5 separate regions of the Homo sapiens genome follow, and regions 2, 3, 4 and 5 are each linked to region 1. The links are contacts of gene promoters, found by promoter capture Hi-C in human tissues and cell types (Jung and others, 2019). All regions are on one chromosome and are shown on one strand. Each heading gives the region's core, a stretch centred on a gene start or on the middle of the fragment in contact. The rest is flanking DNA. Distances are from core to core; before and after follow the strand shown. Region 1 holds the start of SLC25A42 (solute carrier family 25 member 42). Region 2 overlaps ELL (elongation factor for RNA polymerase II). Region 3 overlaps ZNF253 (zinc finger protein 253). Region 4 holds the start of FKBP8 (FKBP prolyl isomerase 8). Region 5 overlaps ELL (elongation factor for RNA polymerase II).

Region 1 (2,700 bases), core at 100-2,599:
CAGCCATGCCTGGGATGGCAGGTGTCTCCCTAAACTGCCGGCATTTTTCTGCACTTCACAGAGGAGCTGAGGCTCACAGGCCGCACATGACCTGCTCAGGGTCAAATGCTTTCACCAGATAATTAAAATGAGAGCTGAGTTGTAAATTTTCCCAGGGAAGCAACCCCAGAGAGGAAAGATCAAGGCATAGGAATCATTTTCCCCCCTCTTTTCCAAATGAAACAGCTGAGGCTCACAAGGGCTTTTGCCCAAGGTTGTGTGGTGGGCCAGTGATTGGACAAGGATTCAAACCCAGGTCTCTGAGGCCCCCAGTGGCTCTTCTCTGACACACTCTTTCCAAAAAGCAGGCTGCTCTAGATTCATTCTCTGGTTTAGCAACCAGAGAATGCTGTGTAACCTTGGGCAAGGAGCTTGACCTCTCTGTGCTCTGGTTTCTGTAAAAGGAGCCAGTGGTCTCTCTGACCTCATGGGATTGTGGTTAAGATTCAGTTAATTCAAAAAAAGACTTGGCAGGGAGAAGGCCCAACAGGGATGTCACTGGATACCGTGGCGGGGAAAGCTGGGACGCAGAGAGGTCAGACACTCAGAAAACCACGCAGCGCGTTTCAGTAGGATTCCGCCCCTTATTTCCATGTCTTCACACCACCTCGAGATGGAGAGGGCAGTTCAGAGTGACCTCCAGCGAATCTGCCCTCTCCGTGTCGTCTGCAGGGGATTAGTGGGGAGTAAGGGGATAGAGAATTATCCAGGAGTCCTTCAGCCTTGATGGTCCAAGTTCACATCCGCTTCTGTGCTAGGTGGCCAGAGGGCGGGCTCTACACGAGAGCCTCAGGGGACCCTGCGCCAGGCGTCCGAGGCCACGTCGGGTTGCCGCGCTCCGGGTCGGACTGCACCTTGAACGCTCCAGCCCTCCCCTGGGGGCGTACCGCCCACGGCCGCTGCGACTGGCCGCGGGGCCTGCCAGTCTTCGGCTTTGCGGCCAATCCCGGTCTCCCCCCAAGCTACGCCCTCCGTTCCTCTCGCCTCTGCCCCACCGGTAGCGCCAGTTTCTTCGTAGCCCCGCCCCTGGCCCCCAGCGATTGGCCGACAGTTCTGCCTGTTTTCTGCCAAGATTCCAATCCTCGCCTGCCTCCAGGCCCTCGCCTCCCAGCGCCTAGCACCCTGAGGGACCACTCAGGCACCCCAGGCCTCTCCCAATAGCCCCACCTCTGCCAATCAGCGATTGGCTTTAGGGGCTGCCCATCTGCTTCATACTCGCCAATCACTGTCGCTTCCAGCGCTGACTGGCCAGGGAGCAGCCAATCGGGGCGTGGCGTGGACCCCTCCCGTGGCGCGCTCTGGGGGTGCGCGAGGCGGGGCCGTGGCGGCTGGAGGTAGCGGCGGCGGCGACGCGTCCGGGCCGGTGAGGGGGCGCGGGGGGCGCCGGGGGGGCCCAAGCGTCAGCGGCCCGCGCCTGTCGGGCTGAACTGAGGTGAGGCACGGGTCCTGTCATGGATCCCGGGGCGAGGGGCGGATGAGGCGGGGCATGACAGTAGCGTCGCGAGGGCAGGAAGAGGTTAAAGACCCCCCCCAACCCCACACTCCACGTCTACTGCCCCCTGGGGGCTACTGCATCCAGGTTTGAGCCCGTCACCCGCAGTCCACGCACGCCTGACACCACGTCCCTTTTCGTTGACATCCCCCATACACTTTAGACTGTCCTTGCTGACATCTCCCACACCCCTGGGGCCTTGTCCCCGGCGCCCCGCACAGCTGGGTCTGACATCCCCCTCACACACCTGACACCGCGCCCCCACTCACGAACACCCGCCCCCACTCACGAACACCCCCCACATCACCTGAGTCTGTCCTTGTCGATGACACCCCCACACCCACACCTGAGCCTGTGACTCCTAACTCATGGCCTCGCAACTCACACCTGGACCTAGTCCCGTCCCCCACTGCCTTTCCTCATATCCAGGTATCTGCTCGCTACTCTCGTGCCCACTCCCCCAGCAACCTGTGTCTCTCTTCTCAGGGACCTTCCCCCTGGCACCTGCCCTCTGCCCTGGCAGCCCCACACCTCTGTCTCCCCCTTTTCTCTCTCCCACCTTGGGCTTTCTTCCACGTGCACCTGTGTTCGCACACCCTCTGTAATAATCCCCCCGAATCCCCCAGGTCCTCCAATAGTCCCCCAAGCCTTGGTATCTCAGGATCGCTGCACCCTCCCCTCCCCAAACAAAAGCTTACCCCAGTGTTCATTTCTAACAGTGCTTGACAGTCTATAAAGTGATTTCCGGACCTTAGAATAATCCCATCTGTCAGACCAAACCGGAATCATCTCCATTTTACCAGCCACAGACCTAAACCACTTGAATGCTAGAGGCAGAGCCTATTCTACCCTGGGCATCGCTGACCCTCTGCTGTGGACCCACCGCGTTTGGGCCCATCTGTTATGTTTATCTCAGAGGGATTGGCAGGAGTCGTGACTTTGACTGGGTCCGGAAAGGCTTAGCTGGAAGGGACGGCCCCTCTGCCAAGCGTGTGTCTCGGAGTCCTGGGGCAGGCTGGCGGTGGAGACGCTGCCGGAGGAGGGGGGCTCATCATCTTGGGTGCCTCCTGCAGGATGCCGGAGAGGGGGTTGCCGGGGCCGGGGCTCCCAGCTCTTGCAGACCCGGGACCCCTCTCCGACACTCCCTGGGCCCTTGAAGCCGATAAAGA
Region 2 (2,700 bases), core at 133-2,632, 580 kb before region 1:
TGCCCTCTCACCAAACCTGCCTTCTGCCCATGGTCTGCGGTGCCAGATAACAACTGCTTTCCCCCAGACAACAGTGACCATGATCTGATCACATCTGACAATGGAAGAAGCTAAGGGACTGACCTAGGTCACTGGGGTCCTCCAGGGCACAGCATGGGCCTCTCCTAGCCCTGGGTTCCTGACGTTTCTGAGGTGAATGAGAACGCTCTAGGGCCTGACATGGGCCATCCCCTCATCAGAGCCCAGGCCAGGCCTCTGTGGGGGTTGGGTCCCTGAGAATGCAGCTCTGCCTTGCCACTGTGCTTCCTGCTCAGGCAGCTAGGAGGTCCCAAACCCCATTCACCTCCATGGGACTATTTGGAGCCCAGCAGAAGCGGCCCATGGGCTCTCCTCTCCCCAGGAGGCCCCTCCAGGCCTCCATCTCAACTCCCCTGCAGACAAGGCCATGTGTGTGCCTTCGACCTGTCAGTCTGTAGGGCCACCTCACTTTTGGGCCTTCCAAGCTCAACTGCTATTAGAGCGCCTCCTCTCTGCCACACTCCCAAGGCCACCCGTCCTCAGCCTCACCACAGAGCAGACTGGCCCCTTCTGCCGAGCCCCAGTGCACCCAAGCTTTCCAGCTGCCTCCACCTCTCCCCTGAAAACAGCTAACACTCCACTATGGGAGCCCATCTCCTCCCAGGGCCAGGGAGACCAGGGAGACCAGGGAGACCAGGTCTGGCCCCCAACTCTAAGGCTCATCTTAGAGGCGAGATTCAGGCCCAGCCCAGGGTGCCCCATGAGGCCTGGTGGTTGGAGGCAGAGGGTATCCCTTGCCCAAATTCGTGCCACATTCACAGTCACTGGGAAAGCTACGGGGATGGGCCGGGCGCGGTGGCTCACACCTGTAATCCCAGCACTTTGAGAGCCAAGACGAGCGGATCACGAGGTCAGGAGATTGAGACCATCCTGGTTAACACGGTGAAACCCCATCTCTACTAAAAATACAAAAAATTAGCCGGGCGTGGTAGCACACGCCTATAGTCCCAGCTATTTGGGAGGCTGAGGCAGGAGAATTGCTTGAACCCAGGAGGCAGAGGTGGCAGTGAGCCAAGATCACACCACTGCACTCCAGCCTGGGCGACAGAGCGAGACTCTGTCTCAAAAAAAAAAAAAAGAAAGCAAGCTACGGGGATGAAAACAGTTAAGGCACTCTCCTGGATGCATCACGAAGCCCCTCAGCCACTGTTTCTCCCTGAGAGCACAGCCACCCCCTGCTGACCTTGGCAGGAAGCAACAAGCCCCACAGCACAAACACCCCCAGGCTGCCCTGCAGAGGGGGCTCCACCTCGGGTGGGAGCCCTGCAACCTGGGAAGGAATCTGGGGAGGGGCTTCTGTGTGAAGCTTAGCTCAGGGCCCCAAGGGCGGTCAGTGTCAGGCACTGGCTCAACAGGGGCAGGAAGAGAGAGGCTGCTGAGCACCTCGTCCTCAGGCCACTCTGCCCCGTTTCTAACAGTCTATGTACAACAGACCCACCCAAGATGTACTCTGTGACCCAGAGTGGGGGTGCGGTCCTGGGAGTGTCCACTGTGGATGTGACCCAGGTCAGAAGGAGATGGCAGCTTGCCAAGCTACCAAGGCACACACTCAGGACCCAGGAGGACCGTCCTTCCTCCTCCGGTGGTCGGCCACACTCACCAAGGCTGCCCCTGAGGCCCTCAGAGACCCAGGCGGTTCTGAGAAGGGAGCCTGTCTCTGAAGCAGAAACCACGCCCTTTCACGGGGCCCCTGTGTCACGTCAGCCGCCTGGATGATTCACAGCTCCGCACCGGACTCGGCTCTTACCGCCTCATCTCATTGTCTGCTCACTGCAACCTCTGCAAAGCACCCAAACCCCTGTCCCAGAAGATAGGCAAAGATCACAGAAAAATAAGAGGATGCCAAGAGAATCTGGCACCCTTCAAGGCATGACCCGTGGTCCCCAGCCAGTACTCACTGCAAGGGTGCTCTTAGGTCCCCTTCCCAGTTTGAACCTGCAACCTGGGAGCTGCCACATCTGGACCTCAGGGATGTGACCTTGCCAGCCACAAAGGTTGGCATCGGGTCCTGCCTGCCACCTCACCCACATGCGCCTCTGCAGCCAACCAAAGCCTTCCAAGATGCTGGCCTCCACCGTCAGCTACATGCCATGCTGACACCTCCGATGCTTCCACCACCACGCAGTGGGTAAATCCTAATCACTCAGGAACACAAAGAAGGCCCTGTGCGTGTAGACCCTGCTGCTCAGACCCCGCTACCCCCCACCAGGAGACCCCCTGAGAAAGGAGTAACTGCTTCTGAGCCATTGCCCATATGGGCTGGCATTCCCCATAAAAACCCATTGAGGGCTCCAGAGGCTTCTGGGAACATCTGGACAATCCAACCACCCCAGAGAGTAGGGTCACCCCTCAAATGGGCAGGCCCAGTGAGGACAGAGCAAGCGTTACATATGTGTCCTGAGGTGGGCATCAAGGAGGTGCCACGAGAGCCAGGCCCCAGTCTTCCTTCGTGCTTGAGGAGCAGCTGGGTTTGGGGGACAGTTGCCCTCAGCATGGCCATAAACCACCTTGAGTGCTTAGGATGCGCACAGATCCCTGAATGTGCTGTCTCAGGAAAATCCTCCACCTTGCTGGGTCTGACAGAGGCAGCTGCATGAAACCAGCCCACTTTTAACTTTAGAG
Region 3 (2,700 bases), core at 134-2,633, 830 kb after region 1:
CAAACCCTACAAATATAAAGAATGTGACAAAGCTTTTTAAGGAAGTTCTCAACCCTTATTACACATAATTCATACCAAACAGAAGCCCTACAAGTGTGAAGAATGTGGCAAAACCTATAAACCTATAACAAGTTCTCAATTCCTTTTTTTTTGAGATGGAGTTTCACTCTTGTCACCGAGGCTGGAGTGCAATGACATGATCTCCGTTCACTGCAATCTCTGCCTCCTGGGTTTAAGCCATTCTTCTGCCTCAGCCTCCCAAGTAGCTGGGATTACAGGTGCCCAACACCACGCCTGGCTAATTTTTGGATTTTTAGTAGAGATGGGGTTTCACAATGTTGGCCAGGCTGGTCTCGAACTCCTGACCTCAGGTGATCCACCTGCCTTGGCCTTCCAAAGTGCTGGGGTTACAGGCGTGAGCCACCATGCCTGGCTACAAGTTCTTAATTCTTAAGAGACACCATGCCTGGCTACAAGTTCTTAATTCTTAAGAGACATGGCGATAATTCATGCTGAAGAGGAAATCTGGAAACCTGAAAGATGCGACATTGCTTTTACCAACACCTCCACATTTCCTATACATAAAAATAAATTATACTAGTGTAATACCCTAGAAATGTATAAAATGTGACAAAGCCTTTATATGATTGTCATACATGATTGTAGGTGATAGAAGTCATACTGCCAAAACTCCTGTAAGTGTGAAGAATGTGGCAAAATATTTTATTAGTGCTTATACCTTATTTCACAGGAAAGCTCTTATCCTTGAGAAAAATTGTGCAAATACAAAGAATATGGAAAAACCATTAATGCCTACTCACATCTTACTGAACAGAAGAAGGTTCATAGTTAATAAAGCATTAAAAGTGCAATTACTGTCAAAAAATCTTTCAGAAAATAGAAGTCTTTAAAGTGAAGAATATTTATTCTGAAGACAGCCATTACAAATATAAAGGGGGTTGTAGTGCCTTTACTTGTGTCACAGATCTTAGTGCACACATGTAGTACTAGAGGAAAACCCTGAAGCAGTTGCTCAAGCTTTGTTTCAGGGAATCAAGGGAATTTATATTGAGAATAGTACTGCAAATGTAATGAATGGAAAGACTTTTCTTTTCCAAAAATGACAGCTTAGAAAACACCAGAGGGTTTATACCAAAATATATTTTTGCAGATGCAGTAAATATCAAAAAATATTTAATTCAAAATTGATTCTATGTAAATATCAGAGAATTTTCCATAGAATAATTAAGGCACTGACACTTCAGACATTACACTAAATCAGAATGTTCAGTATAAAAACTAATCCACAGCTACAGCTGTTAGATAAATTATTTCTATATAATTTTTTAAAAAGTGGATTTTTGAAGCACTGTAATTACATTGAAAGTATACTTGTTTTCTTGAAAAAATTTTTTTGAAAAGTGAATAATGATATAATACAGCTTTCACATTGCTTTATGCTATTTTATTCCTATTATATTCACATGTGAAAGCATGTGATCAATTGTTGCTGCATTAGAGATATTAGAGATTGTTTTTTATTAGTTGGGCATTATGTATGACCTTTTCTATAAAAGAGTAAGGACATTAAAATGTAAGATGCATGATGAAAATATAAGTGGAGAGGCTCTTTGTAGTTAACTGATATTAAGTAATGTGTAAGGTGGGGGTTCATGTTCTCATTTCTATAATCCTAGCCAATGACTTAATGTTGATGCTTTGAATGTCTTTTGGATGGTCTAACCTACATTAACATGTATGCGGAACATCTTAAAACTTTTTTTCAAAAATCATAATGAATTATTTTATTAATAAGCAAAGATAAAAAATAAGGTGGGGTTTCAGAGTAATGCTTTTCTACATTATAGTGACAGAAAGAAATTATTAATTATAGTTAAAAATATTAAAATACAGCCAGGTATATTTATTGGTTTAGACAGGTTTTAATATAATATTTATGGTTCTTTAAATATAAAGTTGTATGGGATGGGTGCAGTGGCTCATGCCTGTAATCCTAGCACTTTGGGAGGCTGAGGCAGATGGATCACTTGAGGTCAGGAGATCGAGACCAGCCTGACCAACACTGAGAAACCCCACCTCTACTAAAAATACAAAAATTAGCTGGGCATGATGGCACATGCCTGTAATCCCAGCTATTCAGGAGGCTGAGGCAAGAGAATTGCTTGAACGTGGGAGTTCTCAGATTACAGGTGTGCGCCACCATGCCTGGTTAATTTTTGTATTTTTAGTAGAGACGGGGTTTCACCATGTTGGCCAGGCTGGTCCCATACTCCTGACCTGAAGTGATTCGCCCACCTCGGCCTCCCAAAGTGCTGGGATTACAGGCATAAGCCACCGCACCCTGCCTATTTTTTTCTTACTGAAATTTATTATTAGTATTTGTGGGTATATTGTATGTGTATATATTTATGCCTTATATGGTATATTTTGATTCAGGCATACAATATGTAGAAATTTCATTAGGGTAAATAAGATATCCGTCACCTCTAGCGTTTATCATTTGTATTACAAACAGTGTAATTATACACTTTTAGTGCATAATTTAATGAAGCAGGTGGATTGCCTGAGGTCAGGAGTTCAAGATCAGCCTGGCCAATATGGTGAAACCCCGTCTCTACTAAAAATACAAAAATTAGCTGGACGTGGTCGTGCATGCCTGGAGGCTGAGGCAGGAGAATT
Region 4 (2,700 bases), core at 1-2,500, 520 kb before region 1:
TGCCCAAGGTCACAGAGAAAGCCAAAGGCCAAAGGAGGATTTGAACCTGGGGCTTCAGGCCCTGTGGCTTTGCCTGATTATAAGCTGAGCGAAGGGTGCTGGGATTTTTGTGGAGAGGACAGCCTCCGAGGCCTTAGGGAAGCCATTTTTAGAGCCTCTAAGGCCACTGGGGGAAATTGAATCTTTTACCAGGGCCTCCCACCTCCAGCCTCTTCTCCAAAGGGGAGACCCTCCCCAAAAGCACCAACTGTAATCACCCAGAAACCCCAAGCGTTTTTTCCTTCCACACTCTGAATCTAACACTATCCCCCACAACCCCAACATCAGGGACCCTGGCCCAAATCCTTCCCCAGGAGACCATCCTCCTCTCATCAGGCCTCGGTCCCACCCCCTCAAAGCAGCCTCCTTTCCAGGAGTGGTCGAGGTCCCACCACATTCTACAGCCTCTTCCTTGCCCCAGACCTCCTGAACCAATAACCAACCCCTCCGTCCCCCAGGCCCCAAGCTCAGAAGAGTGTGGCACAGCCATCAAACCAGCCCGCCGCATCCCCTCCCTAACCCTCACCTGCCTGCTCCTCCCGGGCTCGGAGCCCCACTTTGAGAGACCCTCCCAGCCCCCACCCCCATAATTCCCCGCGCCCGCACAATTCGGCCTCCCCTCCCACCCCCCACCCCAACCACCACCGCCCCCAGCACGGGCCAGCTCCCCCCACAGCCGCTCCGTCTCGCCGTAAACACTCCAGTGTCCCCAGACGCCCCCCCCTTTCCGATCCCATAACACCCCACGCTCTCCTGACGCCCCACAGCCCCGGCCGGGCCCTCAGTCAAGCCGCGACCCAGGCCCCCAACGACCCACGCCTGTCTGACGCCACCAGTCTGGGGCACCCGACCCCCGCACGCCTCGGGCGCCCCTGGCCCTGCACGCCTCCATCGGGACCCCCCCACTGGATCCCCTTTGCCCCCAGTGACCCCCATCCCTGGCCACCCCCGCCCGGCCGCGCCCCCTCGGGCACCCCCGACCCCCGTGCCCCCCCGGCTCGCCACCCCCGCGGCCCCTCGCCCCGCCCATCGGCCGCAGCCCCCGGCGCGCTAGCCCCCGGACCAGCCTAGGCCAGGGCAGCGGCCCGGCCGGCACGGCGCCCCCAGCACCCCAGGACACTTGCCTCTGGCTCCGGGACCCCCACTTGGGGTCCTGCGCCCCCCTCCCCGCCCCCAGCCGCGGCCGCCGCGCCTCGGGAACCAGGTTCGGCCGCTTGGCCCCGCCCCTGCCGTGCCCATTGGCCGCCGCTGCCGCGACTGCCGCACCCGTTGGCTCATGCAGACGTCCGTCCCGGGCGTTGGCACCTCCCCCTTCCTGCTTGGCCCCGCGGGGCGTTCTTAAAGGGACCGAAGCCTCCCGGCTGCTGGGGCTGGGGCGGGGGCTGGGGCGGGGGCTGGGGCGGGGGCTGGGGCGGGGGCGGGGGACCCTGGGCTGGACCCCAACACGGGTCAGTATCGCGCAGCCTGTGCGACTCCTGCCTCTCCTCTGAGCTTCATCCTGACCATCTGCGAAATGGGGATAAACACCCCCATCTATGCACTCTCACCTTGGGGGCTGCTGGGGGCACAGTCCACTCTAAATGTTATTTCCTTAAAGAGTTCAAGCTTGACGGGCAGGGCAGCTCTGGGGTTGCTGAATGACCCATCCTGAAGCCTTAGTTACAGAAGTGAACCTGAGGGCCTGAGGAGGAGTGACGTGCCCAAAGGCATACAGAAACCTCCCTCCCATCCCCCACACAGTTTAATGTCTAGAAGGTTGCCTGGTGCATACTGGAGGCGCTCGATTACTGCTGCGCAGGCGACTGAGCCAGCAGGGCCACTGGGAGGAGTTCCTCCTCTATGCACTGTCTGCTGGAGGGTGATAAGGTCCCCATGGCTCGGGAAGAAGGTGGCATCCTTGATTAGCTAAGTTTTTGTGGATCTTGTTTTGAAACCGGGACACTTCTCCCTCCTTCACTCAGTTTTATTTCCTTCCTAGCAGTTACTCCTTCCAGAATTATCTTGTCATTATTTTGCTTGTGGTTGGAGGGACCATCCCTCACTCTGCTTCATCCTGGCAGAGATTTTTACCTGATTTGTACCCAGCACCTCCTTGAACCATGCCTGGCATCTATAGAAGCTCAATAAATGGGTAGGTGGATGGATGGATGGATGGATGGATGGATGGATGGATGGATGAGTCAGACACCAGCTTTTGGAGGTAGCTATCATGGAGGTGGTAACTGGCTTTTTGGAGATCACTTCTAAGGTTGGAGTTCCCAGGTTACCTCCTACAGGAAGCCCTCCCAACCTCCCCAAGGCAAGACCAGGTGCCCCCTTTAGCTGTCTTGGCACAATGAAGTTGATGAACGTCCACTTCATAACTAGTTTACTTGGGTTTTTTGTTTGTTTGTTTGTTTTTGTTTTTTGAGAAGAAGTTTCACTCTTGTTGCCCAAGCTGGAGTGCAATGGCGCAATCTCAGCTCACCGCAACCGCTGCCTCCCAGGTTCAAGCGATTCTCCTGCCTCAGCCTTCCAAGTAGCTGGGAGTAGAGGCATGCACCACCATGCCTGGCTAACTTTGTATTTTTAGTAGACACGGGATTTCTTCATGTTGGTCAGGCTGGTCTCAAACTCCCGACCTCACGTGATCCGCCCACCTCGATGTACCAAAGATTACAG
Region 5 (2,700 bases), core at 91-2,590, 550 kb before region 1:
CTTTGGGAGGCCGAGGTGGACAGATAACCTGAGGTCAGGAGTTCAAGACCAGCATGGCCAACATGGTGAAACCCCGTCTCTACTAAAAATATAAAAATTAGCTACGCATGGGCCGGGTGCGGTGGCTCATGCCTGTAATCCCAGCACTTTGGGAGGCTGAGGCGGGCAGATCATGAGGTCAGGAGATCGAGACCATCCTGGTTAACATGGTGAAACCCCATCTCTACTAAAAATATAAAAAATTAGCCAGGCATGGTGGTGGGCGCCTGTAGTCCCAGCTACTCGGGAGGCTGAGGTAGGAGAATGGCATGAACCCGGGAGGTAGAGCTTGCAGTGAGCTGAGATAGCACCACTGCACTCCAGCCTGGGTGACAGAGCGAAACTCCGTCTCAAAAAAAAAAAAAATTAACTTGGCGTGGTGGTGGGCGCCTGTAATCCCAGCTACTTGGGAGGCTGAGGCAGGAGAATTGCTTCAACCTGGGAGGCAGAGGTTGCAGTGAGTCAAGATCACGTCACTGCACTCCAGCCTCGGCGATCCAACAGGTCTACTTCTGGGTATGTATCCAAAAGAACTGAAAGCAGGGGTTTGAACAGATACTTACATGCCCTGTTCACAGTAGCATGGTTCACTACAGTCAAGAGGTGGAAGCAACCCAAATGCCCATGGACAGAGGAATGGATGAGCACGATGTGGTCCATCCACACCACAGGACATCAGTCTGGTTCCCTGCCCACTGCCCACCACCCACCATACCACCGGAGGGGGCCTGATGGAGAAGGTGGAAGTACAGGGGGCCCCAGCTCCCTCTGACAGTGCTGTGGGCTTTCCAGTGGGAAAATTGCTAAAGAAACCAGGAAGCTGGCCAGGCACAGTGGCTCAAGCTTGTAATCCCAGCATTTTGGGAGGCTGAGGTTGGAGGACTGCTTGAGCCCAGGAGTTCGAGACCAGCCTGCGCAACACAGTGAGACCCTGCCTCTACAAATTAAAAAAAAAAAAAGGGCCGGGCACAGTGACTCACGCCTGTAATCCCAGCACTCTGGGAGGCCGAGGTGGATGGATCATGAGGTCAGGAGTTCAAAACCAGCCTGGCCAAGATGGTGAAACCCCGTCTCTACTAAAAATACAAAAATTAGCCGGGCATGGTGGCAGATGCCTGTAATCCCAGCTACTGGGGAGGCTGAGGCAGGGGAATCGCTTGAACCCAGGGGGCAGAGGTTGCAGTGAGCCAAGATCATGCCACTGCACTCCAGTCTAGGCGACAGAGTAAGACTCCGTCTCAAAAAAAAAAAAGAAAAAAAATTAGTTGAGTGTGATAGCATATGCCTGTAGTCCCAACTACTGGGGAGGCTGAGGTGGGAGGATCGCTTGAGCCCAGGATGTTGAGGCTGCAGTGAGCTGTGATCACGTGATTGCACTCCAGTCTGGGCAACAGAGCAGAAAGCTCCGTCTCAAAAATAAAGAAATAAAAATAAAGAAACAGGCCAGGTGCGGTGACTCACGCCTGTAATCCCGGCATTTTGGGAGGCCAAGGCGGGCAGGTCGCTTCAGCTCAGAAGTTCAAGACCACCCTGGGCAACATGGTGAAACCCCATCTCTACAAAAACATACAAAAAGCAACCAGGCGTGATGATGGGTGTCTGTAGTACCAGCTATTTAGGAGGCTGAGGTGGGAGGATTGCTTGAGCCTGGGAGGCAGAGGTTGCAATGAGCCAAAACTAGGAAGCCAGTTCTCTATTTCAGAAAAAAAACAATAAAACCCTAACAGCAGAGCTATAGGAGAAGCTATTTTAAATTTTGGAGGCTTTGCTTTCTGGGATCATTTTTTGGGTCAACGAGGAGAGCAGCTGACACCTCGTGCACAGCCAGGGAGAACAAGCCTGTCTCACCTCTAGGACAACACCTTCACCTGAATTGGGAAGTTGAGGCTCAGGGAGGGTGCCAGCAGCCTGGAGCCCCAAATTGTCAGTGGGAGCAGCGCCACCAATGTACCTGATCCCCAATATGCAGTTCTCAGCATCCTTCAAGAGAGACGCCTCTTTGTGAAAACATTTTCACCAACATATAAAAAGGACACGGGGCGCAACAACAGCATCTCATGAAGAGCTGAGGCCCCCGATGGGCCTGGGGGAAGGACAGGGGTGTTAACAGTAGGGTATATACTTGCGGTCTCCCCATCTGAAGAACGGTGAGAAGGACTGACCACAGCCCTCCATCACCAGCAGCTCAATTTGTCCAAAGAGGAGCAAGCCAAGCGGGGCTGAGCTGCCTTCCCTGGCCTCAAAATCGCAGCCTCATACTCCAGGCTCCACTCACAGACACATGGGCATGCCAGGCCGTGGCCTGTGCTGGGTCACCTGCCTCACCTCACCTCATCGCTCTATGTAGCCTCACTACGGGACAGTGGACTGGCCTGTACACACACAAGGCCTGCAGCATCCGGACATCCCCAGAACCAAGCATAGTGCCAAGAACACAAAAATGCCCGAAGAATACTGACCTGTCAGGCTCCACGATGCACAGAAGGTGCAGCATTAAAACATAAAGTGTTCAGGGAAGAAGAGACGCAAAACCATATGATTGTGCCACTATGACAACACGGTACACCCAGGCGAGACAGAGGAGGGTGCAAAGGTGTCAACAGAAATTACCTGGGGCAATGAGAACAGACTTGCTAATTTTAGGTACATTGCAGGCTTTCT

Evidence for each region. Contacts are between HindIII fragments. The study calls those that stand out against the background at their distance.
Region 2: a contact is called between a fragment that was not itself captured here and the fragment with the promoter of SLC25A42 in region 1, in 2 of the 25 tissues and cell types used here (dorsolateral prefrontal cortex and spleen).
Region 3: a fragment that was not itself captured here is called in contact with the fragment with the promoter of SLC25A42 in region 1 in 1 of the 25 tissues and cell types used here (stomach).
Region 4: a contact is called between the fragment with the promoter of FKBP8 here and the fragment with the promoter of SLC25A42 in region 1, in 2 of the 25 tissues and cell types used here (dorsolateral prefrontal cortex and spleen).
Region 5: a fragment that was not itself captured here is called in contact with the fragment with the promoter of SLC25A42 in region 1 in 1 of the 25 tissues and cell types used here (dorsolateral prefrontal cortex).

The regions. Positions count from the first base shown.
Region 1 is chr19:19,062,645-19,065,344 of GRCh38, forward strand. SLC25A42 (solute carrier family 25 member 42) reads left to right here and starts at 1,350. Exons shown (of 8, transcript NM_178526.5): 1 at 1,350-1,471. It overlaps LOC124904655 (a long non-coding RNA gene), which reads right to left and starts at 881. Exons shown (of 3, transcript XR_007067160.1): 1 at 546-881. RefSeq lists silencers at 822-991, 1,252-1,521. The HindIII fragment of the contact is 11,421 bases long and covers 1-2,700 here.
Region 2 is chr19:18,484,844-18,487,543 of GRCh38, forward strand. The region is part of intron 1 of ELL (elongation factor for RNA polymerase II); the gene reads right to left. Among named protein-coding and RNA genes, the nearest start is that of ELL, 36 kb to the right of the region's middle. RefSeq lists an enhancer at 624-1,209. The HindIII fragment of the contact is 6,018 bases long and covers 1-2,700 here.
Region 3 is chr19:19,892,843-19,895,542 of GRCh38, forward strand. It overlaps ZNF253 (zinc finger protein 253), which reads left to right. Exons shown (of 4, transcript NM_021047.3): 4 at 1-1,832. Among named protein-coding and RNA genes, the nearest start is that of ZNF93, 6.8 kb to the right of the region's middle. The HindIII fragment of the contact is 4,796 bases long and covers 1-2,700 here.
Region 4 is chr19:18,542,323-18,545,022 of GRCh38, forward strand. It overlaps FKBP8 (FKBP prolyl isomerase 8), which reads right to left and starts at 1,251. Exons shown (of 9, transcript NM_012181.5): 1 at 1,164-1,251. RefSeq lists a silencer at 1,067-1,496. The HindIII fragment of the contact is 12,332 bases long and covers 1-2,700 here.
Region 5 is chr19:18,510,876-18,513,575 of GRCh38, forward strand. The region is part of intron 1 of ELL (elongation factor for RNA polymerase II); the gene reads right to left. Among named protein-coding and RNA genes, the nearest start is that of ELL, 9.8 kb to the right of the region's middle. The HindIII fragment of the contact is 5,853 bases long and covers 1-2,700 here.